Regions from separate parts of the Homo sapiens genome. Here region 2 is linked to region 1. Evidence: promoter capture Hi-C in 16 types of primary human blood cells and fetal thymus (Javierre and others, 2016). All regions are on one chromosome and are shown on one strand. The core of a region is centred on a gene start or on the middle of the fragment in contact, and the rest is flanking DNA. Distances in the headings are between cores, read along the strand shown. Region 1 holds the start of TAS2R38 (taste 2 receptor member 38). Region 2 overlaps MGAM (maltase-glucoamylase).

Evidence for each region. The method cuts DNA at HindIII sites, captures the fragments that hold promoters and counts their contacts. A CHiCAGO score of 5 or more calls a contact.
Region 2: a fragment that was not itself captured here is called in contact with the fragment with the promoter of TAS2R38 in region 1 in 1 of 17 cell types (neutrophils); the score reaches 8.0 in neutrophils.

Annotation. Positions count from the first base shown.
Region 1 is chr7:141,972,186-141,975,262 of GRCh38, forward strand. It overlaps TAS2R38 (taste 2 receptor member 38), which reads right to left and starts at 1,588. Exons shown (of 1, transcript NM_176817.5): 1 at 446-1,588. The coding sequence starts at 1,504. The coding sequence ends at 503. The HindIII fragment of the contact is 7,298 bases long and covers 1-3,077 here.
Region 2 is chr7:142,096,765-142,099,841 of GRCh38, forward strand. It overlaps MGAM (maltase-glucoamylase), which reads left to right. Exons shown (of 71, transcript NM_001365693.1): 66 at 829-885; 67 at 2,849-2,973. Among named protein-coding and RNA genes, the nearest start is that of MGAM2, 13 kb to the right of the region's middle. The HindIII fragment of the contact is 6,332 bases long and covers 1-3,077 here.

The DNA of each region.
Region 1 (3,077 bases), core at 338-2,837:
TATCATTCCAAGTTTGTCTTTGTTTCCATGAAAATTGCGAAGTTTGAAGAGGATTATATCCTTATTGTAGTAGTGAATATTTCCAAAAATGATGCTAGCACAAGTTCCGAGAAAGAGGTTTAACAGTCATGTTAAAAGCCAAACATATTATCTTGGGATTTAGATATTATTTCAGAAGAGATGATTTCTCATGGTTTGATTTATACCAATAATAAGCTATAGTATATAAAGGATTTACACCAAATACTTAATTATTTTGTTCATTTTATCAAAACAAACCTAGGGTACCAACATTATTCTTGCCTAGGCCATGTATAGTGCTTAATTATTTTATTCATCTATAAGTGAGTTCATTGATACAAAGTGGAGAGACTTTCAATTGTGTTTTATAGAAGAAATTGGAAGGCTTTGTGAGGAATCAGAGTTGTATTCCTGAAGAATCAGAGGCATATTTATGAAGACTCACAGGCGTATTAATGAAGAGCTCATTTCATGTCCATTCTCAGCACAGTGTCCGGGAATCTGCCTTGTGGTCGGCTCTTACCTTCAGGCTGCTCTGAGCCCAGAGCAGAATGGTCATCACAGCTCTCCTCAACTTGGCATTGCCTGAGATCAGGATGGCTGCATGCCCAGAGGGACAAGCTGCCATTATCCCAACACAAACCATCACCCCTATTTTGTCGCGCCACAGAATCAGTAGGGGCACAGAGATGAAGGCAGCACAGGATGATATCACAAAGAAGCAGAAAAAGGAGACAAGAGACTTGAGGGCTTTAATGTGGGCCTCCAGGCTGGGGTCACGAGAGTTTCTGGTATAGACCTTCATTGTCCTCATGTGCCTTCCCAGGGAGACAGTCAGCATCCCAGAAGAAACCAGAAACAATAGGAAAGGAGGCACAGACCACAGATAGCAGAAGAGAAAGGAATAAAATAAATTGAGATCTTTAATCTGCCAGTTGAGCCTTGTATTGTTATTCATGAATAGCACAGTTGTGACTGTGAAGTGAGGTCTGCTAAAAAAGCACCAAACACAGAGGACAGTGCAGATGCAGGAGCAAAGAATAATACCCAGGAGCATCTGGGAGATCTTCCTGGAGACCCAGCTTGCCAAGCAGATCAGGAAGGTGTGAGAGAAACGGATGAGCTTGGAGCAGTAAAGCAGGCTGAGGCAGGCAGCAAGCCAGAGGTTGGCTTGGTTTGCAATCATCCATAGCATGATGATGGCTTGGTAGCTGTGGTTCAGTGGTTCACTCAACTTCTGGAAGTGGGTAAGCTGGATAGCACTCAGGAACAGCAGTCCATGCAGGAAAAGCCGGCTGATGCTGAGACACAGCAGCACACAATCACTGTTGCTCAGTGCCTGCCTCTTCACTACATCCCAAAAATTCACCAAGAAAACGAAGGCATTGGTCAGAAACCCCACTGCAAACTCCAGGACTGAAATGAACAGAAATGTACTCCTGACTTCATAGGACACAGTGCGGATGCGAGTTAGAGTCAACATGATGTCACTTCTCTAATTGGCTATTCTACTTCTCTTCTCTAGTTGGCTAATCTAAAGACCTGGTTGCCACCCAGTGCAGAAAGGTAAATGTACGTTCCAAGCCAGGACCTTTCCTTCACAAAGCATCCAGCTCTTTGCCTAGATCTATCCCAAAGCGAGCGCATAAAAAGTTCTGGCAGGAAACTTAGAGGGATGTTGTTTCTCTAGAACATCTCTTGGATACACGTAAGAGCTTATCATAGGGTGGAAGACTGATGGTTCTACCTCTTGGGTGATGCAAGATTAATAAATCCAGGTGTTCCTGTACAACCGCCTTCCCAGAAGGCCATAGCACAGCATCACGGATGCAAACAAAACAGGGCCTCAATTTCCCCAATCCAGTTTTGCATGCCCATCTGGACCTGTGGGGGTGGCGAAGAGAACAGGATTTGCTTATGGGTTTTGAGGCACCCTGCAGCAGGCAAAGCAGATATTCTTGGTGATCTAAGGTTTGAAATAGAGTCTCTTTTCATTTGCATTCCTTCTCTCATCTGTGAAGTAATGACTCTTATCACAGACTGTGTTTTTAATATAGATAAATGCATGGTTCCTTTCCATGTGTCAGTGTATGATTGCAGTTTTATTTGCTGTTGCCAAAGGTTTCATGCAATCATCATTATTATGCCAGGCACTGTGCCTGGCAAGGAGAATATTAACATGAACAAGACTAGCACGCTGTCATGAAGGGAGAGGAAAGGGGGCATAGCTGGTTTGGATTATTATTATGTTTATTTTTTAATTAGTATAAGTTCTGGGGTACATGTGCAGAACATGCAGGCTTGTTACATAGGCATACACCTGCCATGGTGGTTCGCTGCACCCATCAACCCGTTATCTATATTAGGTATTTCTCCTAATGGTCTCCTTCCCCTTGCCCCCTACCCCCTGACAGGCCCTGGTGTTTGATGTTCCCCTCCCTGTGTCCATGTGTTCTCATTGTTCAACTGCCACTTATGAGTGAATTTCCCCCGATAAATCCTTTAAGAGTTATTGGTGCTGCCCCATTGGTGTTTTTCGATACTTTCTCTTTGTATTTTTTATGTTTTCTTTTGACTAAAGCTCCTTTTTTATTATTAGTAGTGACATAAGTCAGTGATTACTAAAGATGTTCACTTTTGTTTTATTCTGAACTGTTCATACGCAGATATTTATGTAGTCCTTATTTGTGCATCATGATGTAGCAGTTGTATTTAATTAATTGTGTTTGTGACCACTTCATTTGGGTCATTCATGCTTACAGAGTGTCAAACACAGAATTCTGCACTTTCAACTTAAGCTAATTTTCTCCTTGTCTTCACCACACCAGGTGGCGGTGTTGCACTAAAGGTGTTTAGAAAAGATGTTTGCCTCCCTAAAAAGTCTAGGTAGAAACTTGCTCTACTGCACAAGCAGAGATATATAACTATACAGTTAGAACCATTTATATCAAGATTATAATCTTTTATTAAAAAATAAAGTTCTTTATGTTATTTCTTGGAACACCAGATCCAATCTTAATTTTTCAATAATCAAGGGCTCTTTCAGAGAAAGGTAA
Region 2 (3,077 bases), core at 327-2,826, 120 kb after region 1:
CTTTTCAGAAGGATTGCTTGGCAATGTGTGTGTACTTGTATTGCTGCTGGCTAACCCTTCCCTTCCTCTGCAGGAGCTCCTCCCAGCAGTAAAAGCCATTTCTTTACTTCTATTGTTGATTAGGCTTCTGATTAAAATACCAGTTAATTGCACCTTCCCAAAATCTTTTTTTTTTTTTTTTTGAGACAGAGTCTCACTCTGTCATCCAGGCTGGAGTGCAGTGGTGCTATGTCAGCTCAGTGCAACCTCTGCCTCCCAGGTTCAAGTGATTCTCCTGCCTCAACCTGCCGAGTAGCTAGGACTACAGGCACGTGCCACCAGGCCCGGCCAATTTAAATTTTTTTTTTTATTTTTAGTAGAAACAGCATTCCACCATGTTAGTCAGGATGGTCTTGATCTCCTGACCTCATGATCCGCCTGACTCGGCCTCCCAAAGTGCTGAGATGACAGACGTGAGCCACCGTGTCCAGCCCGCAAATCTTATGGTACCCACAGAATTTTTTTCTGCCCCAGACACAACCTCAGTTGTTTGTCTCTTTAAGAGGGAATGGCGTAAGCCTATTTCTATAAGCAAATAGTGAATTTTTTTTTTTCCCGAAGTCCTGGGTACCAAAGTGCTTTATGAAAGCCACTTGTTTTGGGGTAGACAGATCTCTCCTGTTTGAAAAAGGAAAAGGGATGGAAGGTTTCCTCAATAGGTGACCTCCTGGGACATGAGGCAAGTGGGCCCAAGGCCATCACAATTATTTAACCTCTTTCCTAAGTATTTTGGTTTCTCTGTCCTGGAAAATGGTGCCACTGCCACACCTTGTTTATGTTTCATTTTAGAATGCCAGAAATGTCACTGCATATTTCCCTAGAGCCCGCTGGTATGATTACTACACGGTAAGTTTTTCTGAATGTTTATACAACACGGGAAAATGGTAGAGAGTACAAAGGCTTTAGATCTGATAGACCTTAGGTCAAATGCTGGCTCTGTAACCCACCTGCTGTGTGGTCTTAGAGAAGCCACTTTAACCCTTGTAACCTCGGTTTTCTCACCTCCAAGTGGAGTAAGACCACTTCCCTCATAGAACTGTTGTGAAATGACACATAAAGCATCTCACTCAGGTTTTTCGTGGGTGTTCTCTTTGTGTTAATTTTTAATATTTTCTTATATCACTGCTATTTACAATGTTTTGTAAAGGCAGATGCTTTTGAGATTGTGTTGCAAACTATAGTTTTTGTTTTTAATGTTTATATCTTTACCTGCTGTAAGTTTGTAAGCATAGAGGCCTTTTTGTCTCTGTCTTTTTATTAAATATCTCCTTCCATAGCATAGATGCTCAAAGAAGGGCACTGCACATAATTACCTAAGGTAAGCAAGTGATTAGGCAATGTGCAAAACACACACAGAGGTATGGGACCCAACCCTTGTGAGTCTAAGCAGTGCAAGTGCATTTAGAAATGAGGAAGCAATGAAGAGCTCCTTGCCGCATAGTTTCTGTGCTATTATGTTCCCCAAAGACTTATCTGGGAAGCCAGGGTCTTCCCGGGCAGCTCTGGGGTGGTGGGCTCTTGCTGGGACCCTGACAAGTCAGACCCTGATTCTTGGGGAAGAATCAAAGAAGGCATTTCCTTGGTCTCTAATGGGGCCTCTTCTGACTTTCTGAGGAGAACATCGTTGAGGGCTGGAAATACAGCAAAGGGGTACAAGCAGGGATACAGGAAGCAGAGCATGTGCTGGCCCCTTTCATCCAAGGGGATTGCAGTGAGATTAGGTGAAAACTGGAGAAGGATGTGCATTTTGTTCCTTCTCTTCTCAGTCCATTGGAGCCCAAGTCCTCTCCACAGCCCCAGACTCCTCTTCCTGCTGCTAGTCTGGATCTGCCCTTAGGGTGGTAACATGTTAAGGCTCTGCTATGTGTGTCCCAGCCAGGCGTTTCCCAGGAAGAGGTGGCCAGCTTTCTTTACGTGAGACTGGCCTTTGTCCTGAGTGTGCATGTTGAGTCTCCCATTCACTAACAGAAGATGTCTTTGGTTGAAGAGGAAAAGACAAAAGAAATCATGGAGCAAGCTATTTAGAAAAAGATGAAATTTTGATGTTTAATTAAAATGAAGATGAATTTCATAGTTAATATTAATGAAGAAGTGTCACCTTAATTAATCTTCCCAAGTTTGGGTAACTATTACTCATTCTAGAGCACAAGCTGGCAAAAACTATGGCCCACAGCCAAATCTGGTTGTTAGCTGATTTGCAAATAAAGTTTTATTGGAACACAGCCATGCATATTTGTTCGCTTGTTGTCAACAATAACTGCTTCTTACCTGTAAAGTAGCAGCTCTGAAATGAGAGGATTTTGCCTACCAGGGGACATTTGGCAATGCCTGGAGATATTTTTGGTTGTCACAACAGAGTGGGGGTGAGGAGGTGATGCGGCTGACATCCGAGGATTCTGCTAAATATCAAAAGGCACAGGATAGCCCCATCGCCAGAGAATTGTCTGGCCCCAAATCTCAATAGTGCTGAGACTGAAAAGCCCTGCTCTAGTTGAGAACATGTAGGATGGAAGCATGGTCCCTTAGGTTCTGATACAGGTGAGAGAGTAGCACCTCTTCCTGTCACACATCAGGCAAATGTAGTTTGTACAGTGGAAGCAAAGGCAAGAGACCCTAACAAGATATTATAGCAGCCTTGCAAGATTTCTTGCAGCACTGGGTGAATGCAGAATGGGTAATGGCAGGTATGTTGCAAAGGGTGATGAGCAGGCATAAGTTCAGAAGGGAGGATGAGATGTCTGGCAGGATGCATTGTTCAGGGAGGGGCCTGTCCTCTCCTTAGTCATCTCTTACCTTCTTCTGCCTCCAGGGTGTGGATATTAATGCAAGAGGAGAGTGGAAGACCTTGCCAGCCCCTCTTGACCACATTAATCTTCATGTCCGTGGGGGCTACATCCTGCCCTGGCAAGAGCCTGCACTGAACACCCACTTAAGGTAAGTGACAGGACTCAGGTTTTCCTTTACATGTCAGTTAGCTCAACAATTTGTAATGAAGTCCACCAAAATGTAAGCATCACTCTCAAACCCACATGCAATTC